Linked DNA regions of Homo sapiens: regions 1, 3, 4, 5, 6 and 7 are each linked to region 2. Evidence: promoter capture Hi-C in 16 types of primary human blood cells and fetal thymus (Javierre and others, 2016). All regions are on one chromosome and are shown on one strand. The core of a region is centred on a gene start or on the middle of the fragment in contact, and the rest is flanking DNA. Distances in the headings are between cores, read along the strand shown.

Region 1 (3,956 bases), core at 283-2,782, 420 kb after region 2:
TAAAAAGAAAACAAAACTTATTTTGATTTTTTGTTTTTAGTTTTCCTAGTCTCTGAATGTCTAGGTTTAGGGACATCTGTCATAGTCTTATTTATTTATTTTACGTTTAGTCTGGATTTAAAATGTACAAATTAATGTTTAAGTTCTCTGTTTTATTCCTGTAACAATCCTACAAGAACAGGTTCCATTATTGTGTTCATCTTGCAGATGAGGAAACAAGGCCTAGAGAAGTTAAATATTTTTTTCTGAAATGGTACAGCTAGTACGTGGCAGGGCTCAGATTTTGGATCCGGTCCACCTTAACTAAATATGCTTTTGATGTAGCTCTCTTCAGGCTGAATTCTTGACCTCTCATTTGATGCTGACTCTTCTCAAACCCTTAGTCTTTGTGCTACTAGGTAGATTTTATCTGTGGCAAGAACACGGTTACCCTGGAAACCCACTAGCTAGAATGGCAAGCCAATTATAGCACCACCGCTTTTTTTAAATTAAATTAGCGCTGCTGATGACGTGGACTTCTTGATTGAAGCATGCTGAGAAATGGGTTCTCACCAGTTGTTCCTGCCTCTTAGGATCATGTGGGATCATTCTCATCTATTCTATCAAGCCAAACAAGAAAATGCCTCTATGTGATTGACTGGATTTGAGGAATAAAATGTGATGATCTTTTAGGACCCTGAGCTTTCAGTAGTGAGTAGACATGCATGGAAATGTTTGGAAAGAAGCCCTATTGGAGAAGAAGCCTGTCATCTGGATACTTTCCACCCCCAAGCACACAAGGTCCACTGATTTAAAGCCCTGCTCTTAACTACTGAGGCTAATGTTCTCTATTTTAGTATTTCTTATTTTATTTAAGGCCATTGGTTTAAATCCAGACTTGATTCAGGAAAGGTCGTAGCCCTTTGATATTCTTTGGTCTTTGCACACTTCTAATAGGGCAGGAATTTGCTTTAGTTCAAACCAATTGGTGCATTTCCTTTAAGTACACAGAATTTAAACAATTGAATTGATATGGCCACTGTTGAACTGAGTGGTACCAGGTTGGAGGAAAGGACATTCATTATATGTTAGTGGGTTGTGGGCTCACTCTCTGAGATGGTAAACGGTAGGCTGGTAGAATGTTGAGTGGTTCATTCTGCATAACACACATGGCGCCAGGCACATTACCTAGTACCTCTATGATTTTCATCCGCTTTATTTTCTGTTTTGTAGAGTAGGTAAAGGTAAGGAGACGGGCTTGCTCATTTGCAAGGCTATTCTGTGATGCAGGGTTCTGAGTACAGGATTCCTTATTTGCAGTCCAGTGCTCTTCACTTTATACCACCAAGTCACCAGAGTCTCAGGGCCTGTCTTCTGTATCGCAGAAAACAAATCAAGGATTAGCAACACTGAATCTTAATTCTTGAAGTTCTAACAGGAAAATTATGTTAGTCTTGCTACATATCGTAGGCATATTTTGTCCAAAATGAGAGTAATCAGGGAGGAGAAGAGGCTGCATCTTACTGTGTCCTGATGGGTGATACTTCCGTGACTATCTCCATCACCAGTGAGCAGATTTCCAGAAGTCACAGTTCAAAACGATGAAGAGAATTACACATTTTCAGAAAACATTGTACATTCTTTGTTAACTTTTCCACTTGTAAAATAATTTGTTTTCAGACATCCAGGTCCTTTCTCCATGATTTACTGCGTTGGTGACATTAATCAGCGTGGTTATCTTGGAGCCTCATTTCCCCTTGGGTAAAATGGAAGGATAACATTGGCAATCATACAGACGTGTTGTGTAGAAAGGAGTAAGAAGCATTTTGGAAGTGGCAAAGTGGCAATAATCCCCTGTAAGACAGTAGCTGTTTTTAAGATCACTGAGCTCTCAAACACTGGCTTTTTCTGCCTCACACTTTCTAGATTTGTAAGACTTAATCTGAAAATATCTTTGCTATTCATTATGTATAATTGTAGGGCTTTGGATTTAAAAAATCCTAATTCTGTTATTTCCCTGACAATAACAAATTATTCTCATCTAATTTTCTCTTATGTGAAATAAGACATACACCCTAGTTACTTCCATGCCTAATATGATTGACAAATCTATATGTTATCTGAATTGTGAATATATTTTCATACATATAGAAGTACATGTGTGTATTTCTTGAAATCTAATGGTCAATATACACTAACCAGTTATTTCTGGGATTTTGGGAACAGGCTTCTTTCTATACTTCTCTACTTATCTTTAAATTTTCTCTAATGAGCCTACTTTGCTTTTGTTTTACATACAGTAATTAATATATTTATAAATGTATGTATACTATATATTTTAATAAATTTATATAAGTATATGTATGTATATACATATGTTTTGCAAGTAAAAAAACTTTAGTAATAAATATCTACAAAGGCAAATTAAAAACTATTACATTTTTTCTCCCTCCCTTCCTTTCTACTGTTTCCCTCCTCTCCTCTCTTTGGTTTCCTTCCTTCCTTTGTTCCTTCGTTCCTTCGTTCCTTCCTTCCTTCCTTCTGTCCTTCCCTTCCCTCCCTCCCTCCTTCCTCCCCTCCCCTCCCCTTCCTTCTTCTTTCTTGCCCTTTCTCTCTCTCTCTTTTCCTCTCCCCCTTCTGTCTTCCTCTCCCCACCTCCATCTCCCTCTCTCTCTCCTCCCTCCCTGCCGCCTTCCTTCTTTCCAGAAAGTCACTAACCAGAATCTTTCACAGAATAAACTGTGAAACCTAGATCTTAAATGTACTACAGTAGAAAAAGAGATGAGATTTTTGAAAGATGATGGCTTGTCCTTGTCTCTGTACTTGAATCTATCTCAAAACAAAGATATAACTATTGTTTTTAATAATAATTTCAATATAGAGTGACCATCCTTGCCTACTACCCTGAAGAGAGAGAGCATTTACACATAAGACTGGTGGTTGCAGTAAACCCCTTTCAAGTGGAGTGGCCACTATGGTCCTTCCTCTTCCCTTCCTTCCTTTCATTCCCTTGCCCTTTCCCCACTTTCCTTCTCTTCCTTTCCTTTTTTCTTTTAAGGTTCATAAAATCTTGATTGGCCTCCTTCCTAGCAGCCAGGAGTTTGGGTCCCTAATAGCTAAAGCTTATATACTTTATTTTCTTCTTTCTCCAGATGGCTGTGGCTATGAATTTTACTCCCCATCCCAGGACTACCCCTGCTATACTGACACTAATTTTCATTTTATAATACTGTCTTCATCAGTCCATGCTATGCTACTAGTTTTAGTTATTATAATATTAACTTAATCCACAATGAAGGCGACAGGTTTTTTTGTGTGTCTTACTTTTTAAAGGGGAAATATTATCTCTCACTTTAAGGAAACTAACTTTAGCAACTCATTCCCTCACTTTTTTTTTTCTTTCAACTTGATTTGTTCAACTAAGGAGACCACATTTAGTACTTGCTAGCTGAGACTTCTGTTCTACAATTCTGAGTTAGTTCCTCATCCGTCCGACCCTCTCTCCCCGTGGTGCACTGAGTCACAATGTGATCACCAGCTGCATGTGCTGCTATTACACACAACACATTGGCTAGCAGAGGAGCCAGGATTCAGCCTTGGAAGTACTTTCAGGCAAAGGTGAAGACCCTTTCCCCACTCTAAGCATCTTTCAGTAGTTTAGTGTAGCTGATATTAATGTTATAAATGGTCATTCCTAATCCTGTCTCAGTTCCAGCCCAGATGGAGTTTTGATTTTAGAAAATCATTCAGTGAAATGTATTTCCTGTGCCTGGTAGTCATTGATCACTTACCAAAAAAAAAGGGGGTAGTGGGAGACTAAAAATAAACTTATGATAATTCACATACACTTAACCTTTACTGACTAATACCAAAAAGGGAATGAAGCAGGCTCTGCTGACCAGCACTTGCAGATGGATTCCAGGAACGTGGCTAGAGCTGCCAAAGCCATCGCTGAATCCTGCCAAAAGCATCCCAGG
Region 2 (3,889 bases), core at 214-2,713:
GGGGGACTACGCTCTGTCCTATCTAACTCACCTGAAGATGCAATAGCCGGGTGAGAGACTGCTTTCATTATGTGCTAACGTGAGGGATTACTTTAGATATTAATAGGAGAGAAGTGCAAGGAAAGGAAGTCTCAGGGTATGGAATGCTTTCCTGGCCATGGCTGCTGCGCGTCATAATCCCCTAACACAGTTAAGTGGTGGTTCTCATCGTCGTTCACCCTTACAGATGTCAGAGGGGAAAGAAAAATCCAACTCAAAACTTCCAATGACAGGCTTGTCTGTATTCAAACCAGTTCATCTCGTTCGCAGACTTTTTTGAAGCTATAAGCACAGAGCAAGCTTTCTGGGCGGGGCTCAGAAGTAAACGTTAAACTCCAGGGATTCATTTATTTGAGCACAGGACAGAGGAAGTTGCCCTGAAGCAACTGATTGTCATTGATATTCAGGGCTCGCTGTCAACCAGGACCTTCCAGGAACTGGCTCTGGGCCAAGAGCAGTAGAAATCACTGGGTGGTCCGCACAGCTCGCGGGCATCTAACCTGCTTCAAGGCTCAGGGCTAAAAGGGAGCCAGGGCCCTTCCTGGAGGCGGGAACCCAAGTGGGAGGCAGAGCGCCTGGGCCCGCTCCTCGATCTGCTGAGTGACGACCCTGTACAAGTCATTTCTCTTCCGAGAGCTTCAGTTTCCTCACGTGCCAAGCGGACGGGTTGGAAGTTGGTCTTTGCCAGCTCTGACACCTTGTAAGTTTTGAGTCTTGCTGGGAATCCAGGGCGGGGCTCACGAGGAAAATCTTGGAAGGGGATTTCATGGCTGGATCTCTTCCACTCAAGCTCAGTGCCCTAATTTGACGCCTTAATAGTAGACGCAGGCTTTTCCATTTTCCAGGAGCCCCCTGACGCGGCCGCTTCCTCCTACGTCTCCTTCCTCTTCCTCTAGCAGGGGCAAAGTCTCCACATCTCCCTCTTTCTCTTCCTCCTTTGCAAGCTCCCTGCATTCCCGCGTCTCCTCCTCTTCCTCCCAGGAAATGCAATGCCCTCAGTGCGCCCACCTTTTGGCAAAGCCACTGCCGGCTGCGGGTTTCCCCTCCCCCGCCAGGCGAGCTCTGCGCGGCGGCTTCGCGGGCACACGCCTTCCCATACCTTACATGGACAAATGCGTGCAGGCAAAGTCAGGAATTCAGGCCCCTGACGTCAGCCTCCAGCGCTCAGGGCACCGCACGGGAGACCAAGGGGAGGGGGTGGGGACGGTGGGGAGGAAGGAGGGGGAAAGGCACCAACCAGCAGCCGCTCCAGCCCTGCCGAAGTTTCACTTTTTGTCTGTGGGTTCGTTCCCGGGTCCCGCGCGAGCTTTCCCGGGATAAGTAGCTTTAGCGATCGGGAGACAGCCGGGCGCTGCAAGGTAAGGGCTGGCTGCACGGCCCGGGGCGCGGGGCGTGGGGCGCTGGGCGCGGGCGGCGCGCTCGAGGAGGCCAGTGTGGGGCGCGGGGCCGGGCCTGTCCGGGGCTGGGGACAATGGGAGGGGGAGTGCCCGGGCACCTCCTCCTCTGCCTCTGCCTCCGCCTCCAGCCGCCGCCGCCGCCGCCGCCGCCGCCACCACCACCGCCGCTGCCCCGGCTGCCTCCTCCCTGAGGTATTGTTGCAAATCCTTCCTTCCCCTCACCCTCCACCCGCGGGCGCCTCGGGAACCCCCAGCCCTCCCCCGGCGCGAGCGCCTCCGGGGTGGCAAGAGCGCAGGGCGCGCGCCCTGCTCTGGCCTGGCCCGCTGTGCGGAAGTGCCGGCCGCGGCCCAATCACGGGGTGCACGCCATGGGGGAGGGGGACCCAGAGTTTTTCCAAAAGCGTCGACCCCAGGCTAGGCGGGGTTGGAGCCTTGCGCGCCCCCTGCCCGGACTTTTCTGGGCGCCCAGGGGGCGGGGCCACGCCCATCCGCTTAGAGCTTTCGCGGAATCACAGTTGTCACAGCGGAAAGGGCCTAGACCCAGTCCTCCAAGTCCTCCCATTTTACAGTTGGGGCAGCTGAGGCCCAGAGAGAAGGAGGGTCGCCCGGAAGTTATTTACTAGAGGCCAGACCATAATTCAAATAGTTGGCTCCGGACTTAAGTTCCCTTTCTCTAAGCATTTCTCTAGCACCCTGTGTGTGGCAGACCCTGTGCTGGGTGTATTGGACGTTGCCCTCAAGGAACTCAGTTGAACCTGGGAGTCAAACCTGGCCTAGGGTAGAAAATGCTAAGTGCTGGAGCAAAGGCGTGGACAAAGTTAAAGGAAGTTCCAGGGAGGGGGTTTGATTTTCTGGTCCCTGGGACGGCCTTTTGGAGAGTCCTGCACTGAATGGGGTTTTTGGAGGTTGAGGAGTTTCCTGAAGCCAGCTAGCGGCTTGGAGGAAGACATCTCTTCGAGGGAACCGTGGGCCAGAGAAGACTAAGTAGTGTGGGAAATGGAGATGAAAGTATAAATATTCTTTAGTTGGAGGCAAGGGGTTGGGGATGGGGGAGGTTGTGATATGAGATGAGCTAATCAGTGGAATTGTGCCTGGGTGCTTGGACAGGGCAGAGTCTTTGGAACCTCGGAGTCGTAGGAGAACTGAAAAATCTCTCTGGCTTCCCTTCCCTTAGAAGGGATCCACTGCTTTCCCTCCCCCAACACAAAACAACTAGCGAGAACTCAGGGTCTTCTCTGGGGCTTTTGCTAGTACCAAACTCACTTAACTGTGTTTCCAGTCCCCTTTCTCTTTCCATTCCTTCCCCTTTTACTAAATCTCTTGCCTTTCCTGTAAAATTCACTCTCACTAAGGTGTTGATGACTTAATGGCTTACCTTTCCCTGCACATGTGCATTTTAAGAAAGCCTAAAGTGAAGAAGGGGAAAGTGTGGCTAGGCACCTTTACAAAGCATCTAGCTCCCTCTCCCATCCTCCCCCTTCCTCAACTCTTATAGATAGAAGAATAGGTAAAGGTCCACGAAGGTGGGTGCTAGACCTAGAGCCTATGGTCAATAATGGTGGACAGTGGGGGGTTAGGACATCCAATATGGTTTTCTCCACTTCGTCACCAGTTTTTCTGCTTGCACAGTTCCTGCCAGCACCAGGGGGCAGTTAAAGGAAAAAGTGTGTGGGCCAGGCACGGTGGCTCACGCCTGTAATCCCAGCACTTTGGGAGGCCAAGGCGGGCGGATTGCCTGAGCTCAGGAGTTAGAAACCAGCCTGGGCAACATGGCAAAACCCTGTCTCTACTAAAAATACAAAAAATTAGCTGGGTGTGGTGGCGGGGAACTGTAGTCCCAGCTACTCGGGAGGCTGAGGCAGGAGAATCGCTTGAACCCGGGAGGCAGAGGTTGCAGTGAGTTGAGATCACACCACTGCACTCTAGCCTGGGCGACAGAGGGAGACTGCCTCTCAAAAAAAACAAAAAACAACAACAACAAACAAAGGAGAGTGTGCATTTTTGCATTTAATTTCTACAATGCAGGCCCCAACCCCAACACCCAAAACTTTATAGTCTAGAATGTAGGCTCCAGAGGGGATTACCTATTCTGAATGGTAGGGGTAAAAGCCTGGGGCCTTAGGGTCTGGCAGTCCCCCCAGAGGCAGGCTCTCTGTAAGCAGCATGGGTCTAGAGTTGGTTTTGAGTGTACGCAGAGGGAGGAGAAGCTGAGCTGATGAGCTGATTGCTGTGGCTGGGACTTGAGTAGGATCTTTCTTAGAGTGACACATTCTGGTGAAGACAGTTCCAGGAAATGATGGACGGGAGAGGAAACTTGGTTATAAAGGGGCTTAAAAATGCCAGGCTAAGGAGTTTGGATATATCTTAAATTCATCATTTGAGGGTTTTGAGCAGGCTGAGACATGATTTAGAGGGGAGGTACTGGCATCGAGAAGCCCCCTGCTGCCCAATTC
Region 3 (4,038 bases), core at 1,180-3,679, 350 kb after region 2:
AGAGTAAAGGCTACTATGAGTCAGTTAATAAATAGATTTATTAATGCTGTTTGATTTTTTCTGCCACTTAATATATACCCTTTTGTGGGGTAATGTAATCATTGCATGTACATTAATCTTGCCACCAAACTTTATTTTATAAGCCAGAATCATAAAATAACATGGGAGACTTGTAGAAATTATTTAAAATCACAAATCGTAGAGCACCAGATTTGACATGGTCCTAACCCCTCTGCCCTTTCTTGTGATGAGGAAACTGGAGCCTAAATTTCTTAAGTGAACTGTTCATGGTGACACAGTTACTAGGAGAGCTGGTCCTAACCACAACTAGAGATTTCTGGACTCCCAGGCCTCTGCTCTTTCCATTACCTTCTTGTTCATTTATTTTAGCAATTGCCTGAAGGCAGGATCACAACCCATATTTCTGTATCACCCATAACCTTTATTTTCATTTCATTTTATTTTTTTTGAGATGGAGTCTTGCTCTGTTGCCCAGGCTGGAGTGCAGTGGCGCAATCTCGGCTCACTGCAAGCTCCGCCTCCCGGGTTCACGCCATTCTCCTGCCTCAGCCTCCCAAGTAGCTGGGACTACAGGCGCCCACCACCACACCTGGCTAATTTTTTGTATTTTTAGTAGAGACGGGGTTTCACTGTGTTAGTCAGGATGGTCTTGATCTCCTGGCCTCGTGGTCCACCTACCTCGGCCTCCCAAAGTGCTGGGATTACAGGCATGAGCCACCACGCCCGGCCCATAACCTTTATTTTATTGCGAGAAGATAGAATAGCTACTTGATTGATATTTGTGGCTTGATTGATCTATTCTTTCTTCGACTGTGCAATAGGAATTCTCTGGGAAAGGACTATGAAGTCTGTATACTTATCACCCTTTTGATGCTTTTGGGGTTGTTGTAAGCATGCAAAGGGTTCATTGTGCACTGCTTCTGTATACTGACTCAGGGTGGTGGGGAGAGGAAATGGGAGAGGAAGTTATATACATCTTGAGCAAATCAAGCTTTTCTATTTTTAGTCCTTGCTACTGTTTGGAAAGTACAGCCTCTGTTCATGGCAGTCTGGCATGTGTTTCCTTAGTGCCATTTCGAAAGGGGGAAAAAATAAATATGGGAATTTTTTTTTTTTGTAGTGAAAATAGTTACTCAGTGAAATCACATAAGTTTCCCGTTTTTCTCTTGATGAAACCTCAAACCCACTAGGCACAGATTCCTCAACCTCAACTATGCATGTGAAAGGCTCATGCAGAACAGGAGACCAGAGTCAGCAAAACCTTGTATAGCAAGATAAGCTGTGGTGCCCCAGAGAAGCGCGGATGGGTGGCGGAGGTGGGGAAGGCAGGGAAGGGAATGGTGATGTTCTTTCATATTTAGTGGGGAACTTGGCCAACTACCAGATCGTTGCCCCCTGGAAAAGGCTGAAACCTGAACTAAGATAAAGAGACACATAGCTTTGCAGCTTTTTGCTTAAGCTGTTCCTTTTGCTTCAGTTTCTGTCCTTGGTAAAAGTTTCCCTGACTGCTTTATAGCTACTCCCCCAATTCAAATAAATAATTTTTCTTTAATAGTTGTGATGGCATTTGGGAGATTTTTCCAATCTAAGGCTATATCATTAGGACACGATAAAGAGCCTTTTATGCTAGTAAATAAAATGATTTGATCTGTATTTAGATGGATTGCTATAACATAGTGGTACTCAAGTGATCAGAAATGGTGATGACAGAGTGTCTTGGAGTCACCTTCAGGGGTCCATTGAGGCAGACAAGGACCTTAACCAAGGTGGTGGCCATGACCATGGAGAAGGGGAACAAGAATCAAAAGCAATTTGGAAAGAGGGGGCTTATGGGAAAGAGAAGAGTCCAGGATGCTTGGCAGGATTGTGACTTTCTTCAGGGAGAATACATATCCTTCCTGTCCTAGTATGTGGCAAATGGAAGAATCCTTTGGAAAAAAATGAGGACTTTGAAGCAGGTGTGATGTGAATGTTACTAGAGGAAATGTTGATACCAATGAGCAAATATTGCCCTTTGTTAATGAAAGGGACTATACAGTCTCCAGACATAAACAGCTCTGCCTAGACAAAATTGTAGCAGTAGGGTGAGAATAATGCATTGCTATAATTAATGCTAATTTGTGGATATTGCTGTATTGTTGTCATTGTTTTTTAATTGAATATGTATTAAGCTCCAACAGGGTGCTATGAATAATGCCAACTTATAGTTGATTTATGAGAACACTCAGAAGACTTTATTAACACCAGTAAATGGAAACTCGCACTCCTTCGAGGTGGTAAACGTCTTTGCCATTTCGACAGATGAGGAGAAGTGAAGTAGATTGTGTTTTCTCTGTTGGCACTGCGGGTGAGAACACAGAAACTGTCGAATGAGAGAAAAGTATTTTCCTTGTCCCCTGGAATTGGGTTAGAATACATTAGTAAAGAATTCTTTAATGTGTTCAGAGTTGTGGGATTTTAATTAAATTGTTCCAGTTATTGTTAGCACTTGGATTAGCAACTGGCAACCAAATTCTAGGCCAGCAGATTTCAAATTTAGCATGGACAAGAATTGGGGTGAGGCCGATGGGTTTGTTAAATGCCAATTATTAGGCCCTGCCTTCAAAGGTTTAGATTTGGTAAATCTAGGAGGGGGCTTAGGAAAATCTTATGTTCATGGATATCGAAGGTGCTTCTGTCCTCAAAGGTTGCTAGCTTCCTTTCAAAACTCCAGTATTTTCTTATTTTAGGACGTATCTTTGGCCACCAAAATCTAGCTTCACCTGAGACCAAGGGCTTTTTATTTAATAGCTGCAAATTCTCTTATAACACACCAAGTATAATCCTGTAATCCTCTTTTATACACAACATACCACCAGAAAACATGTGCAGAAGACTTACCGTATGCTTAGCATTCTAGTGGACACATGATTTCTACTACCTTATTTCACCTGGTCTCCAAAATATCCCTGTGGGGTTGGTATTATTGCTCCCTTATTTCATAAGAAGACACTAAAACTAAGAGTATACGACTTGGTCAAACATCACATCCAGTTTAATCCTTTCTATCTTAACCTGGTTAGGCATATATTTTACTTTAAGTTTGAACAACAGGTGGGATTCTTTTTGGCACTGACAGAGTTTGCAGTTGACAGTAGAGACTGTAAACTCGGCTTAAGTGGACCCGTCCCATAAAGAAAAACATTCACATTGGAACAAGGGAGAGGTGAAAAGGAAAGTTGGAAGTGAGTAATTCAACTTTTCATTTTTTTTTGTCCCCTTCCTTCCTTCCTTCCTTCCTTCCTTCCTTCCTTCCTTCCTTCCTTCCTTCCTTCCTTCCTCTCTCTCTCTCTTTTCTTTTTTTTTTTTTGAGTCTCACTCTGTCGCCCAGGCTGGAGTGCAATGGCATGATCTCGGCTCACTGCAAACTCCGCCTCCTGGGTTCAAGCGATTCTCCTGTTTCAGCTTCCCAAGTAGCTGGGATTACAGTTGTGTGCCACCATGCCTGGCTAATTTTTTTTTTGTTGTTTTTTTTTTTTTTTTTGCATCTTTAGTAGAGATGGGGTTTCACCATGTTGGCCAGGCTGGTCTCAAACTTCTGACCTTGTGATCCGCCTGCCTTGGCCTCCCAAAGTGCTGGGATTAGAGGCGTGAGCCACTGCACCGGGCCTGTCTCATTTCTTTAATACGAGGTACTAAACTGTCACTGAGTAAATAGTAGACATTTGATTATTATTTGACTCTGAATATTTTTTGAAAAAAGGAACATTTCATAAGAAAGCCTGAAATGAGACATGAGCAGAATTCTGGGGTATAGAAATGATTTTTAAGTTGAGACAAGAATAGTGAAGCTTGAGACGACATTATTCCTTGCCTCCTTTAGACTTTCTTCAGCCTCCACCTAGCAAAGTAAAAGTCTTGTCATAGCAGTCTGTTGCATTGTATTCCCTGGGTCTAAGGCAGAAATGTGTACGTGCTCCAATAACCCTTGTTTGTTGTGCTGTGGAATCACGTTCATTTCTGATTAAGGTGAAATCA
Region 4 (3,545 bases), core at 387-2,886, 440 kb before region 2:
ATTTATAGAACATTCTCAAAAAGACAAAATTATAGAGGTGGAGAACAGATCAGCGGTTGCCAGAGGTTAGAGATGAAGGGAGGGAAACAGGATGACGATAAAAGGGTAGCACAAATGGTCTTCGAGATGATGGAACTGCTGTATATCTTGGTTGTGGTGGTGGCCATGTGAATCTACACATACAACAAAATTGCATAGAAACACACACACACACATACGCACATACACATACACACGAGTGCATGTAAAACGATGTAAGTCTGAATAAGGTCTGTGGATTATACCCACTGAGTCAACTTCCTGGCTTGGATATTGTGCTATCGTTAGGTAAGACCTTACCATTGAGGGAAACTTGCAGAAGGGTACACAGGACCTCTCTGCACTATTTTTTGTAACTTTTTGTGAGTCCATAATTATTTAAAAATTTAAAAAACTTTTAAATGCTCCTAGTATATGGTGAATGTCTAATAAATGTTATTTATTATGTTTTGTCATAGCTGTTTTTCAAGTTTTTATGTATATTTAACATATTTTAACTTTGAAATTAAATTCAGAACAATAGATACTATTTTTAAAAAGACAAAGTGTGTCTCAGCAAAGTTCCATATTGTTACATGTAGAGGAACTTTGAGCCCCTTGTGAGCTGAAAAATGGCTTAGAATTTCTGATAACTAGTGTCTTTTTGTTAGCCCCTTTTGAATTGTGAAAATATCAGGAGGCATGAATAAGAAAACTCTAAGTCCTGAGTCCATGCATGTTCGTCTCCTGGATGCAGGAAAACTTGGGAACAATAGATGAGAAAGGGCTGGACCCGAGGAATTAGAACTCTGCGGTCTCAACGAATGGTTTATATTCCCAGAACACCCCTAGTGAGAGCAATCTCCTACCTCCATCACTCAGTTACTTTGACCAGAAAAGTCCTTGTCACTGTTTCCAAAAGGGGTCCTGAAGATTATCCTATACAGTCTTTGCATTTGCAATCAGAAGCTGGGGCTGAGGGACGGTAAGTTTCCTGACCAAGGCCAGTAGCTGGTCAACAGCAGAGCCTGGTCTTCAATCAAGGCGAAAGCTGTTTGCTCTGGGTCTCACTGTGGCAGGGCCCAGGACAGCAGGGATTTGATGCTGTCTCCCACCCAAAACCACCCAGAGTCATTGAGTGTAATCAGGAGACCAGTGCTTAAGGGGCACCTCCTCAGGCCCTCAGCACTGAAGGGGAGCAGGGAGGAGATTGAGATGTACCCAGCCCACAGCCTAGGCACCAGCCGTCCAGGGACACGGGCCTACACTGTGATGCAGGTGGTGGGCGCCATGGCATGTCCCAGTGGCTTCCTCTCTGTCTACTCCCAGAATTTACAATTTTGACCCTAAGAGAATACCAACCCTAAAAGCCTAAATTTTCTCCTTACACTGTTGTGAGTTGAAAAAGCTGTGCTCAAGGGTACACAAATGTTACCAGTGGAAGGTGTCCAGGTTCTTGGCATTTTGAACAAAGAATTGGACAAAATGCACAAACAAAGCTATGAAAGAATAAAGCAAAGAGAGCATAGATTTATTGAAACGAAAGTATACTCCACAGACTGGCAGTGGGCTTGAGCAAGCACCCCAAGAACGCTGGTTACAGAATCTTCTGGGCTTTAGATACCCTCTAGAGGCTTCCCATTGATTACTTGGTTCACACCCTATGTAAATGAAGTAGTGGCTCACAACCAATCTGATTGGACATGGAAGGTGACCAATCAGAGGCTAACATGAAGTTACAAAGTTACACCCTATGCAAGTGAAGACTAGGCCTACAATCAGTCTGATTGGTTGCAGGAGGGGACCAATCAGAGGTACTTTCATTTTTAATTTGCAAGGCAGAAAAGCAGGAGGGGTGGGGGGAGCAAGTTGCAAAGGGAGTAGCCTCGGATCCTTTTGTTACTTGGGTGTGGAGAGATGGGGTTTTCCTTTTTATTCAGTTCTAGGAAACCAGTGCAAATTGGCCTTAGGTTCTCTGTCTCCAGACCCTATTCTCCTGCCTCACAAAGATAGGTGTACCTTTTTGTTAATTCAACCACTGACACACAAAGTTACTGCCTGTGCTAGCTGAGTGTCTGACAGCAAGTCAGAAGGCAAATGGTCTGTTCTCGGCCCTCACCCGCTAGCCAGGTGTTCTTAGGCTCTCCTCTCCGAACCTCAGTTTTGTCACTTGCCAAATGGGATATCTTGCTTCCTTAACTGGCGAGATTGTGGTGAGGATTAAGTGAACCCTTGGAGATGAAAGGCTTTTGTGATTTGTAAAGTTTGTTATACTAGACACTAGATTAGTGTCATATCATAAACCCCTGCCTCTCTCCACAGTTCTACTAGGAATTGGCCTCTTTTGCCCAAGAATTGAGATATAACCCCTTACCTTTTCGAGAAGAGCTGGAAATTCCTGATCCCCAAAGGAATGATTCAGAGTGGAACTTTACACACATTCAAGTAGATCTCCGAAAGAAAGATTTGGGGGCCAGAGCCCCTCAGTCAGTTCTGTTAAATGGCTCTGCTGAGATGACGAAGAGGATTTAGAAAGAGAATAGGTACAAAGCCATAGGAGACCAACTCAAAAAATAGCACTGGCCCCATTTATACCTTCCTGCTTCCCTGGAGCCAGAAAAAGTGGCACCTACAGCCTTCACTGCTTGGTCTACCCTGCCACCTTGTGGCTATTTGCTAGAATGCACCAGTAGAACAGCCTCAGAGAAAGCAGGGACCAGTAGGAACCCTTAATCATGCACTCACTCCTTTGCTCCGTCACTCAACAAACCTGTACAGACGCTCACAGTTGTTCAGGCTGAAGAAATTCACAGGCTGGAAGAAGAGAGGGACTGAAGGGAGGGTAAATGGAGAAAAGAGACTTGCTAGGCAGGGGTCTTGGTGTTTGCAAAGACACTGAAGCCTCACAGGTTTGGGAAATGGTGAGCTTCTCCATGTGACTGAAGAATAGGGTGCACCAGGTAGAAATGATGGGAGATAGATTATAGCCTCACTATTAGAAAATGATATGTATGAAACTGTAAGCCTCTGTACGTTAGGAAAAAAAAAACACAAACAAACAAAAAACAAAGAAAGACACAACTTGGTCCCTGGAGTGCAGGGCAATTCAGGTTACAGGTTACAGGTTACAGGTTACAACCCTCCGCAAATGGCCCCCAGACTTCCATGGCCCTGCTGTCCTGAGACTCCTAGGAGGAAACACTTACTCTGAATCCCTCGCCATGATTAAAATCAGTTTCTAAATGGGGTAGGATCTTGTGTAATCTCAAGTTTGAAAGGGACCTTAGAGTCATTTAATCCAACCCTCCCTGCAAGCCAAGATTGCTGCCAACTCACCACACATCTTAAGCTTAAATCACCTTCAGTGATGAGTTCAGATGCTCACCCAAAGCCCGTTCCATCTTTAGACACAGGAAATCCTTTATTCTATCAAGCTGAGTTCTTCCTCTTTATAATTCCTGTTCATTGATATAAGGTTCCCCCCGCCAGGGTTCTGTCAAAGAAGTAATCAGATACATGAATGTATA
Region 5 (3,916 bases), core at 877-3,376, 400 kb before region 2:
TATGGCATATTATGGAAAGAGTGTAAGGGGTTGGCAGCCTTGCAAGAGCCATTTATTGTGGCCACACATCCAAAGAAGGCCTCAAATTTGGACTTTTGGGCCAGACACAATGACTCACAACTGTAGTCCCAATACTTTGTGAGGCTGAGGTGGGAAGATCACTTGAGACCAGGGATTCAAGACCAGCTTGGGCAACGTAGACCCTGTCTCTAAAAAAACGGAAGAAAAAAAAAATAGCCAGGCATGATGGCACATACTTGTAGTGCTAGCCACTTGGGAGGCTGAGGCAGGAGGATTTCTTGAACCCAGGAATTTGAGGCTGCAGTGAGCTATGATGGCACCACTCCAGCCTGGGCCACAGAGTAAGACCCTGTCTCAAAATAAAGAAAGAAATAAATAAATAAAATTAGACTTTTGATATTATCTCCACTGAGGCTATACATCTCTCTTTCAATCCTAACAGGACTGAAAGAAGATGACCATCATATGCAAGTTTTGTGTGTGGGATCCAGTGTAGGACCACAGGCTCCTATGACACCATGATTGAATGTTGTTAATAATCTATAATTGTTTTATGAATAGTGCAATTGTATTGTAGTTGTGTGGGTGCTGGTGTTAAAAATATAAGGTTTGAAATATATTTGTCGTAGCAACAAGCACACCTGGTGCTCAGAGCTCAGTTTTGTTTTGTTTTTGTGTTTGTTTTTGTTTTTGACACAGAGTCTCACTCTGTTGCCCAGGCTGGAGTGCAGTGGCGCGATCTCAGCCGACTGTAACCTCCGCCTCCCGGGTTCAAGCGATTCTCTTGCCTCAGCCTCCCGAGTAGCTGGGATTACAGCCCTGCACCACCACGCCCGGCTAGTTTTTGTATTTTCAGTAGAGACAGGGTTTCACCATGTTGGCCAGGCTGGTCTCAGTTTTAATGCCATTTCTCAGCAGCTGGAACCAAGGCTTCTTGGAGAAATTGTTGAGTTCTAAAACTGGGGCAGGAAATACACAAATGAGAATGAAAGATCTTGTAGCACCTTAAAGTAAGGAATTATTCAAAAACAAAACTACATTGGTGAGGGATATTTCAAAAAGACACAGGAGCCACTTGAAGAGCTCCCAGTGGCCAAAGCTGCAACAATTTGAGCAACAAAATAGAATAGTGTTTTACATTATAACCCAAAGTATAAAATAAATATTAATGAGTCCAGGGCTGGGTGCAGTGGCTTACACCTGTAATCCCAGCACTTTGGGAGGCCGAGGTGGGCAGATCACTTGAGGTCAGGAGTTCAAGACCAGCCTGGCCAACATGGTGAAACCCTGTCTCTACTAAAAATACAGAAATTAGCTGGGCATGGTGTCGTATGCCTGTAATCCCAGCTACTCGGGAGGCTGAGACAGGAGAATCCATTGAACCCGGGAGGCGGAGGTTCAGTGAGCCAAGATTGTGCCACTGCACTCCAGCCTGGGCAACAGAGTGAGGCTCCTTCTCAAAAAAAAAAAAAAAAAAAAAGTAATGAGTCCATACTATTATAAATAAATTATTAAGTAAATTAATAAACCAGAGAGAAAAGACAAACATCCCGTAATTCCAAATTTATTTATATAGATGTGCACAGGGATTCCAAATAATTTATAGACATGTGCCGGCCTTAAGGAGGAGAAACAGAAACCCACACTCTTTAATTGTGGGCTATAGATAGTAACTTCTTCCCGGGGAGTATATTCCGTATGGAAAGGTAGTCAGGGGAAAATAGCTTAGGAGAAGCCTGACAAACACTCTCTTAGCCAGGGGATTAAGACCAACATCAACAATGATAAATCATCTTGATAGTATATACTCTTGATAGGATGTGGTGAAAATTGTTCTTTCTCTCTGTGGTCCTGCTCTCATAATACTAGTCTAATCATAAGAAAAACATCAGACAAATTCTAGTAGAGGGGCGTCCTACAAAAAACCAGTAATCCTCAAGCCCATCAAGGTCATCAGAAACAAGGAAAGTCTGAGAAATTGTCACAGGCAAGGATTAGCCTAAGGAGACATGACAACTTAATATAATGTCGAATCTTAGATGGAATAATTGGCCACAAAAAGACATAAGATCAACCTAGACAAATCTGAATCAATGATGAACTTTAGTGAATAATAATGTACCGATATTGTTTCACTGTTACACGTGTACCATATAATGTATTATGTTAATCATAGGGGAAACTGGGCACAGGGTTATTCTCTGTACCATCTGCTCAATTTTTCTGTGAATTGAAACATGTTCTTAAAAATTAAGTCTATTACCTGGAGGAGATATCTATATCTCTATATATCATATAGAGATATAGATAGATATCTATAGATATCTATAGAGGTATAGATAGATACGTATATCATATAGAGATGTTATATATATATATATATATATATATATATATATATATATATATACAGCTGGAGGATATATATATATAATTTTCAATACCAGAAACCTCCAAAAAGTGACCCAGATCTCTCCTGAAATCTGGGAGATCCTGCTTCTCACTCATTTTCCTAGAATAGAGTCAGAGAAATGGGGCACCTCATTTATTCTTTTAGTTTACTAATTTACTCCATTTCTGTATGCCACCATCTGCATAACCATCAGGAGAATACTAGAGAGGCACCAAAGGCCAAATGTTGTTGTTGGGGTAGATGGCTCAAGCCACTTCGTGGACCCCCATATTCAAAATTTCTCTGTGGAAACCCACTAAGGAAACAGTGCTCTCAAAGATCTTGTCATCAGTTTATATGGGGCATGCAGAACTTAGAGATTCATTCATGAAGTTGGGGGAGCCCCAAGAGATTCCAAGAGTGTCTGCTATTTCATTGCACAACTCCAATAGAACTGTGGATCTCATCAGAGTTATGAGTCTCGGTGTCTACAGAGGAGAAGCTCCTATCAGACCCCTTAACCCTATGAGTTTGTCTGCATTATCTGAGTACAACCCAATTCTCTAAATTCTGAAAGCATCTATCTTCATCTTTCGGCTTACCAGTTCTACAGTTGAGAAAGGTCCAGAGAGGAAAGCAATTTGCAAACACCACTTAGCAAATTGGTGGCAGAGCTGATTCCCATCACCAGTTCACCCCGAATCATTTATTTTGTTGCAGTATCCACTTTGGTAAACTGAGGCCTGTTATTGTATTGATGTACATTATGACTTCAAAGATGCTTTTTTAATTTCTAACCAATTGTCAGTTATCAATGGCTTTTACTTCTAATGCTGCACTTGAGTTTTAAGTGTCTCTTCTCTTCTTCCCTTCATGTTTTCTGACATCTATTGGCCTCTCTGCCAAGTAGTTATAAGATCTTTGAACTAACACTTATATTCACTGTGAAAGCCAACATTTAAATAACTCTTGGTGAAGTGCAGTGAGACTAGGTCCTACTGTGTTGATTAGTATGACTTTTTCAGATATATTGGCCACATATACCAAGAATCATAAATATAAGCAGACCCTTTGACCCAGAGATTCCACTTCTAGGAATCTATCTTTAATGCATAATTCAACATACAGGAAAAATCAGTGAATGAGTATATGCATCCTAGCGCTGTATTCTAACAACAAAAAATTTGAACAACCTACATGTCCTATCATGACTAGGCTGGAAGAAAGAATGTTGGATGAAGAATGATTAAGTAAATTACAATACAACTAATTTCGAAAAATTAGAATTGAAAGATACTTATGGTAATATGTAAAGTGGAAAGAAGTAGAATATGTATATAGAGATATATGCATATTATATATCTATATAATATTTGTATACAGTATATTCACAGCAATTTTTAAAAATATATTCTTTGTAGAAAATAGACTGGATGTAAATAATAGTACACAATTGACAAAAATATTTACAGTAGCTCTCTTACAGTAGTAGGATTATGAACG
Region 6 (3,967 bases), core at 281-2,780, 490 kb after region 2:
CCTTTGTAACCCAGAGTAGCTTCAGATAAACCTACTGAGCCCTTCTTTTCTTGTTCATAGGAAAATATTTTTAAAGGGATAGTGCATTTATAAGAAAATTTTTATATACTTCTTTTACCCTGAGAGGATTGCAAAGTTTGTCATGCCCTGATTGACAAATATAAGTTCAAAAAAAAAAACAGAAAATAAATTCCTTAAATAATTTATATCAGACAAATGGATCTGAATCTAAGCAAAATTTTCAGGAAAAAAAATGTTTATAATCATTAGGTAAAAGTAGAATTCTGACCTTATCTTTATATTTTCTTTATATTTTAAAGCTTTGCCTACATATTCCAAGACTTGGCTTTCAGTTTTCCTAAATCTAAACAGAGAAATAAATGAAATCATGTCTAAGATTTCTTCCGATTTTGACATTGTTATATGTCCTTACCTGTAAAATGAAGAAAATATTTTTTCTTTTTATCAGGGTTGTTGTTAGGAAGAAATGATATTATGGATATTGTGTTTCAGCCTGCTAGGGACAGATACTTTCATAGCTTCATTCATTCACCCTAGGGTAAAAGTATCAGTGTTTTCTTCTTTTTCCTTCAGGATTTATTCCTTAGTCAGGGAGTGACCAAGGATGGTCAGCCAGAACCTCAGCTGGTCACCTGGAGCATAATATGGTAAACAGAACCATACCCAAAGTTCTGTTTACGGAGGCAGTCCTGGCTACCAGTGAATGATCAGGAACCCTATAAGCTAGCCCCTGGAAGAACAATGATGCTGATTTTATCTGTAAAATAATTCTTTGCATACAAAGTACTATAAACTCAGTTGGTTCTCCCTGCATATTTTTGAATGATTGTAGGCAGAGTTTTTGTTATCTGTTTTACTAATGATGCAACTGAGGCCCGTAGGAGTCAGGTTGCCTATAAAGGCAAGGATGTGCATACAGAATTACCCAAAGCAAATTGGTATTTTGTGGGGCACAACCTCAAAACCACTGATATCTTGCTACATTTAAGTACAAAAAGCTCCTATATGCCACAGAATTAGAACATTACCAGATCTTAAATGTTCCTTAGAAATCACCTCAACTGATGCCCCACATTTGGCAGAAAGCCAAAAAGTTTCTCAGCTAGGAACAAAACACAAGTTCCCTTTCTATCACATGGTGCTGAAGCTTAGATGCATAAACCGAACAAATCATCAGGAAGCTATAAAAGGAACAAACAAATACAGTCTCTGGAATCATTGCAACCTCAATACACATCTCATTGCCACTTCCTGGACATTTGTGTCTAGCTAGGTTGCTTCCCCTGCCTGAGCCTTACTGTGAATATGTGCCAAGCAGAGTGTTGCTGTTAATTGAGCTAGATAACATGCCAGTGTCTGGCCTAGTTCTTGGCCCATAATAGGTATTCAACTAATATTTACTTCTTTTCATCCACTCACCCTTCTTCTTAACAGTTGGAACCCCTGTTTTGAACTGTTCACTTCTACTCTGGATTTCCCTGTGTAAGCTCACTTGCAGAAGAGGGTGGAGGTGAACACACTGCATTTCCCACCATCCAGCTCTGACCTGGGCCCACCCTGTGCAGGACTCTGCTGACTTTGGGATGCCAGCTGTGGTCCTCACACAGGGCTCACTGTATCCGGGGGCCTGGCTTGATCCGGTAAAGAGCGTCTGCTGCGGTGCCTGATGGAAAGTGCCCGCTTAATTGGGAGATAGGGCTTCATGAATGGATCTTTCATTAGTTGAAAAAAAAAAATATTTGCCTGCAAGGACTGTAAACAGAAGACTTGATTCACTTGTTCCTTTTCTCCTGCCCTCTCTTGGGTTTTGTTTGACTTAGCGTGTTTATACCTCAGGACACAGCTGGTACTAATGCCTTTCCAAGGTTAAGAAAGCTTTCCCTGCCATTCCCTATGGTCCCCTTTGTGTACTTTCAAGAGACAATAAAGGAGGTGTGGATGTGAGACAGAGAGTGCATTCACATTAGTCCTGGCTATTATGGGGACCTCAGAACAAGCATCACCTCCACCCTGTCTGCATGGATTTAAGAGAGAGCATCTGAGCACCTGAGCTTACCTCAAACACGTTCTTTGAAGAAGAGTCACTGCCGGTCATTTCTGTAATGTATCACAGCTGTCCTGACCTGATCCTTCTCTGCTCTATCGTGGCTACTTTAGCATATTTTTCTCAAAAAGTGTTCCTCTTTCATAATTAAAGGTGAGGGAAGACTGGATGAAAAAAGCTGTGGGATATGGTCAGCACATAAGGCCTGTGGTCAAAGATGGGTCTTCAGTTACATCGTTTGGTCTTACTAAGCCTCAATGTTCTCATTTGTAAATCTGGAATAATCATTAGACCTTTTTCACTCTGCTTGTTGTGAGGTTCAAACATGAGACTCAATGAAAAAGTACTTTTTGGACAATAGAACACTACATAAATAGGAAAATTTTAATGGAACCTTCCTCATATTCCATTAATATGTTGGTGCTCTGCATTATAGTAGTACTTTAGTTGACTTGAGCACATGATGTAGTTGACTTTAGATTAAACTTTCACTAAGTATTACTTAGAAAAAACGAGCCATCATGTGATTCTACAATCTTTATGGGCTACATAGGGATGGTGAATTCTTTTCACCACTAGCAAAGGCTCCTAAAGGATCATGCCTTACTCCCACTCCATAGATGAAGACCTTAGGCCCCTGGGAATCCATTGAGCTCACAGAGGTTTACATAATGCCAAATCAGGATGGGAAGTTAGATCCTGCTTAGTGCTCATAACTGGCTTATGAGGTTTCCATTTCAGACAATGAATACTCATCAAGGAGGATTGGTGGGGAACCATGAGCTGTTCATGTGTACTGCTGCACTCACGTCGTATCCAGACACCCAGATATCATCTCTGGCCCACTGCAGTAAGATCTCTGTCTTCTGTCCTGTTTGTCTCTCCTTCATTCATTCCTTCATTTGCTCTATCTAGCCTTCATACTTCTTGAATCACTTTGAGTATGGTACCCTTATTTTAAATAAATAGTACCCTCATTTGGGTATTTGTTTCCAGTGTTCCTGAGGCTGGGGAATTTCTCCAGAGTTTAATGATGACTCTGGTGCTCAAGCACCAAGAAAATTTCCACTTGAGATGGATCTGGCACTGGAGGTTTATTTTTTCCCCTTTCTATTTTATTGTTGGCCAGTTTGGGCCAGCATGTTGCTAGGTTGTATTGGTTTCTTAGCTCTTGTAACCAAGCTAAGATGCACATGTCAAAAAATATTTTTTCTTCCTCTCTAAAAAGGTTTTTCCTCTTTTCTGTAATGCTTCAGGAAGGGAAAAGAGTGTTTGCTTGATTCTAATTCTGGCATATGAAGTGTTTGCTACAAAATGTTTTTATCACTGTGTTATCTTGTCAAAGTGCTATCGTCATTGTCATTTTCAGTTTAATAGCAGGAATGTTCCATTTTCACAAAGGATATTCCATATTTTAAGTAAACTCAACAAAGGAAATTTCAAATGCAAAAAAATATTGATAGTGAGAAGCTAATTAGTTTTTTTATTTCTCAAAGCCCTACATTTAAAATAGCTTTAAGTTTCCAGTATGTCATGCTCTGACAGTAGCATTTACAGGTAAAGGATGATGCTTAACTAGGATTATGGTTACATTGTAAACACTCAAGCCAAAGAAAAATATATCCTTGGACAAAGGGGTTAGGATGATTTGCCAGAGTGGCCTCCAGTGTTTGGATGACAGCTACATCACTGTGATTTAATGCACCTTTAGTTTCAGGAGTTGTATCCAGACTAGTCCTCATCTCAGCCTCACCAAAGGGGACTGGACTTAACCACAATAGAACTCAGAGCTCCTGCAGTGAAACCCAGTCCCTTTCCATGCGGGAAGTGATAACCGCAGGTGAAACTCTGAGCTAGGGAAATACCATCTTGGTAGTCCTGAAGTGATAGCACTTACATTCT
Region 7 (3,663 bases), core at 666-3,165, 420 kb before region 2:
ACGTGGCTCTTTCTTTTCTAAAAGTGCATTCATCCATTCATTCATTCATTCACTTGGGAGCCTACTGTGCCACGCCATGGTGCTGAGATCTGGAGACAAAGCGAGACGTCATCCCAGATGCAGTAAAAGGCCCACATGTTCTGCCTTGCTTGGCTGCCAGCACCATCACCCCACTTTGACTTACCCACCCTTTCCTTTCAGATCCCTCACCTGCAGGCCATGAGGACCGTTTTATGGGCTCTAAACTGCTCACGGCTCACAACAATGACAACATCAGTCAAGATGTCTCGACTCCGGAGACGATTAAGGTTGAGAAGAACATCACTGGCATGGCGGGTGAACTGGATACAGCTGTCAGCCGGCGAGGCCATTTTGTCTTCACTTGAAAAAAGAGGCCAAAATCCTGTTAGTCCTCCAGAACCTGTTTCCTGCTTGCCACAGGTATCAGAGCAGGTGGCTTAGCCTGCTAAGGTACAGAATGCAACTCAGGTCCCTTGTATTTGATCTTTGAACAATTCATAGTCCAACTCTGGCCATTATTCTTCATAGTTTTAAAATGGGGAGAATAACTTTTATCCAACAAGTTGGGATAGAAAGCCCTTTAGGGGAAAAGCAAAGGGAATGAATATTTGTTGAGTGTTTTTCCCACATACCAAATACTCTGCCAAGCACTGACAGGTAGTGAGTATGTTGCAATGGAGAGACACCGTGTTTTTTGTTTTTGTTTTTGTTTTTTGAGATGGAGTCTCACACTGTCACCCAGGCTGAAGTGCAATAGTGCAATCTCAGCTCACTGCAAGTCCGCCTTCCCAGGTTCAAGTGATTCTCCTGCCTCGGTCTCCCGAGTAGCTGGGATTACAGGTGCCTGCCACCATGCCCAGCTAATTTTTTTGTATTTTTAGTAGAGATAGTGTTTCACTATGTTGGCCAGGCTGGGTCTCAAACTCCTGACCTCGTGATCTGCCCAACTTGGCCTCCCAAAGTGCTGGGATTACAGGCATGAGCCACCGCGCCCAGTCAAGACACTGTGTTTTAAGATTATCAGGCTAGACTTGCCTTTTGCTAGCTGTGGGACTTTAAGCAGGTTGTTTACTGGTTTGGGGCTTTGGTTTCCCCAAATGGAAGTAGTAATACCTATGTGGTTATAAAAGTTAGAAATACATTCCTCGTTCATAGGAGGCTCTCAAAACTCATAGCTATTCTCATAGGTATCTTATTTCATCATCTCAGTCACCATTGGTCTCTCTCTACTGTTAGGCTTTAGAGTTGCTTGACTTTTGTACCTCGAGGAGCTAGCATATTGTTGGTGAACATTAGCTGGCTAAATTAGTTTGTACAAAGAAAGAGTAACAATGATTGACCATGCAAGTGGTAAGACAGTCTAATACAGAGGTGAAGGATGAGGACTAGGAGTGATGTAGAGGGAACTGGTTATCCTTGTCTCATATAATGAACAGTGGCAAAGTTCACAGAGACACATGTATTGGCAAATTCAAAAGAAACAGTTTGTCCCAACATTTTAAAGCATATAATTTTATTTACTTACCCAATGCCTTGCTTCACAGTCCAAAATTTTGCTCAAAACCTACAGAGAAGAGAAGAAAGCAAACAGAAATTGATTTAACGAATGTAAGATTGTCCACTATAGTCTTATTTTAGGACATACACATTTAGTTTTGCTTTGATAGTTGCAGCTTGCCAGCTGGTGTGGTTTTACCACAAGCTAACAAACATTTTCCAGCTCTGCTCTTACGGAAACAACAGGCACCCGAAGCTATGAGATAATAATGTTTTTATCCAGAGTACTGGGAGTACAATTGCATACATTAATTAGTTATACATACATACATACATATATTTCCTTCTTCAAAGAAAAAATTTATACTATCCAAAGGCCACTAGAGTTTATGGGAAAGAAAAAATAAGAAAAATGGTTCTGTCAACATTAACAATAACGATTCGTCCGTGGCCTAAAACCACTGGACGTCATTCAAAACCTGCTAAAATATTATCTTTCAAGCCTTAGAATGATTCCGCAAGGACGATAGGGCCAATATCTTTATCCTTATTTCACTGGCGATGAAACTGAGACTTAGGGGTTCAAGTGGCTTGCTCAAGACAAACAGCTAGGCAGTATTTCCTGCCCATCTGAAACATTAAGACTGAATATAGACTCTGCAGAACACAGCCTGAGATGTCATGTCTACGTATTCCTTGAAAACCTTTGTCTTCTTTTTCAAAGTGTTCTCTCCCTTCCCTACTGGGTCTAAGACCAGACAGAATGCCATTGCTTCTAAGTTTGTGCTTCTCCCTGCTGGTAAAAGACTTAACTATGTGATTTAGCTGAGAACTGGCCAGGGAGCACTAAACCTTGAAGAGATTTAATGAAATATGTACCTCCTTCCAAACCGGCTTCTCTAAAACAAAATCATTAAAAGCACAGGTGTAAGACCCTCATTTATGATCAAATGTGGGCTGCAAAATAAAACAATATTTGAACTGTCTTCCCCCCTTTAAAAAAAAAAAAGCAGAACCTTTTAGAGCTATTTTCTGGGTAAAGAGGCCTGAGGCCAACAAGGTCATGTTGGGCCATGTACATGGTTGGTGACCCGGCCCTAGGTCTTCTGGCTCAAATTCCTGTCCCCTTTCCAAATCAGCCTACGTGCTGTAGAACATGCAAGACAGCACCCTGATGTGGGTGAATCTCATTTTTAAGTTCCTTCCCCCACACAAACACTTTGCCCCATTCCAGGCTGCTGAGTCTTACCAAATGAGCACTCTAAAATGAGAGGTTTCCTTGAGTCTGTAACCAAACACTCTGACATTTCTCTGTGGTCCCAAGTGCCAGTCACTCAATCCCATCGGCTCCAAGGTTAGTGTGTGCATGTGAGTGAGTGGGGACTGGAGGGAAGGAAGTGGGGAAGGGAGAAGACAGAAAAAGACAAAAGAACCTATCTCCTCCTCTCCCCAGCCCAACTCGAGATAGGCAAAGAGAGATAGACTAACTCGGTCTTTACCAAACTTCAAGGATTTTCTCCTTTGCAAAAGAAAGCTGAAGACACATGGGAGTGGGAGGTTTACTTAAAAACTTTCCTCTCTTCCTTCATGGAAGGGATCCTCAAACACTTCTGGAATACCTAGGCTGTTCTTTAACCAGCTTCAACCACCAGCTCGCTTGTGGATTTCCAGTCGCAGGCTTCTGGAACCACAGGAAGCCCAGATTTGCCATTTCACCATGACAAGTGGCAATGACTCACTCCAGATGCGGATTGAAACAAACAAACAAATTCCCCTGTGTCCACTGTCAGCTGGGCCTTGGGCTTTTCACCGTAAGCCTCTGCCTGGCCAAAAACAAATGTACATACACGAGGCGCAGGTCCTTCTCAAGTTCACTCCTTTGCAAGCCAACTCGTCTTAAGAACCAGCCCCCCCCAACTCCTGAGTGTGTGGGTTGAGTGTGGGCAATGTTGTCACCACCCCCACCCCAAATGCCGCAGGTGTGGAAGCACCACCAGCATTTGGTTTGTATTTTTACAGAGCTCTTAGTCCTTTCCCACCCCCTCAAGATTGCATCTTATCCTTATAACAGCCCTGCTTTATTAGGGAGGGAACTGAGGCTCCGGGTGAGAGGCCTTGCCCAAAATCTCAAAACCAATTTCCAGC

The links. The method cuts DNA at HindIII sites, captures the fragments that hold promoters and counts their contacts. A CHiCAGO score of 5 or more calls a contact.
Region 1: a contact is called between a fragment that was not itself captured here and the fragment with the promoter of LPP-AS2 in region 2, in 1 of 17 cell types (total B cells). The highest score is 5.5, in total B cells.
Region 3: a fragment that was not itself captured here is called in contact with the fragment with the promoter of LPP-AS2 in region 2 in 1 of 17 cell types (M0 macrophages); the score reaches 5.7 in M0 macrophages.
Region 4: a contact is called between a fragment that was not itself captured here and the fragment with the promoter of LPP-AS2 in region 2, in 1 of 17 cell types (neutrophils). The highest score is 5.7, in neutrophils.
Region 5: a fragment that was not itself captured here is called in contact with the fragment with the promoter of LPP-AS2 in region 2 in 17 of 17 cell types (neutrophils, activated CD4 T cells, megakaryocytes and 14 more); the score reaches 21.0 in neutrophils.
Region 6: a fragment that was not itself captured here is called in contact with the fragment with the promoter of LPP-AS2 in region 2 in 1 of 17 cell types (naive B cells); the score reaches 5.5 in naive B cells.
Region 7: a fragment that was not itself captured here is called in contact with the fragment with the promoter of LPP-AS2 in region 2 in 5 of 17 cell types (neutrophils, activated CD4 T cells, fetal thymus and 2 more); the score reaches 9.8 in neutrophils.

The regions. Positions count from the first base shown.
Region 1 is chr3:188,575,260-188,579,215 of GRCh38, forward strand. All of the region lies in intron 6 of LPP (LIM domain containing preferred translocation partner in lipoma), which reads left to right. Among named protein-coding and RNA genes, the nearest start is that of LPP-AS1, 8.6 kb to the left of the region's middle. The HindIII fragment of the contact is 3,134 bases long and covers 1-3,099 here.
Region 2 is chr3:188,152,625-188,156,513 of GRCh38, forward strand. It overlaps LPP-AS2 (LPP antisense RNA 2), which reads right to left and starts at 1,464. Exons shown (of 1, transcript NR_036497.1): 1 at 1-1,464. It overlaps LPP (LIM domain containing preferred translocation partner in lipoma), which reads left to right and starts at 1,533. Exons shown (of 12, transcript NM_001375462.1): 1 at 1,533-1,628. RefSeq lists enhancers at 68-968, 2,768-3,666 and a silencer at 1,401-1,740. The HindIII fragment of the contact is 6,292 bases long and covers 338-3,889 here.
Region 3 is chr3:188,506,347-188,510,384 of GRCh38, forward strand. The region is part of intron 5 of LPP (LIM domain containing preferred translocation partner in lipoma); the gene reads left to right. Among named protein-coding and RNA genes, the nearest start is that of LPP-AS1, 60 kb to the right of the region's middle. The HindIII fragment of the contact is 2,839 bases long and covers 1,011-3,849 here.
Region 4 is chr3:187,711,909-187,715,453 of GRCh38, forward strand. The region is part of intron 1 of LOC100131635 (hCG1645011-like); the gene reads left to right. It also overlaps a transcript of RTP2 not described here. Among named protein-coding and RNA genes, the nearest start is that of RTP2, 11 kb to the left of the region's middle. The HindIII fragment of the contact is 3,458 bases long and covers 1-3,365 here.
Region 5 is chr3:187,751,936-187,755,851 of GRCh38, forward strand. No RefSeq gene overlaps it. Among named protein-coding and RNA genes, the nearest start is that of BCL6, 8.4 kb to the left of the region's middle. The HindIII fragment of the contact is 8,209 bases long and covers 1-3,916 here.
Region 6 is chr3:188,645,642-188,649,608 of GRCh38, forward strand. All of the region lies in intron 7 of LPP (LIM domain containing preferred translocation partner in lipoma), which reads left to right. LOC124906316 (a long non-coding RNA gene) reads right to left here and starts at 663. Exons shown (of 5, transcript XR_007096213.1): 1 at 434-663. The HindIII fragment of the contact is 728 bases long and covers 1,167-1,894 here.
Region 7 is chr3:187,733,323-187,736,985 of GRCh38, forward strand. It overlaps BCL6 (BCL6 transcription repressor), which reads right to left. Exons shown (of 10, transcript NM_001706.5): 2 at 1,547-1,585; 3 at 211-381. The coding sequence starts at 371. Among named protein-coding and RNA genes, the nearest start is that of BCL6-AS1, 8.5 kb to the right of the region's middle. The HindIII fragment of the contact is 8,715 bases long and covers 1-3,663 here.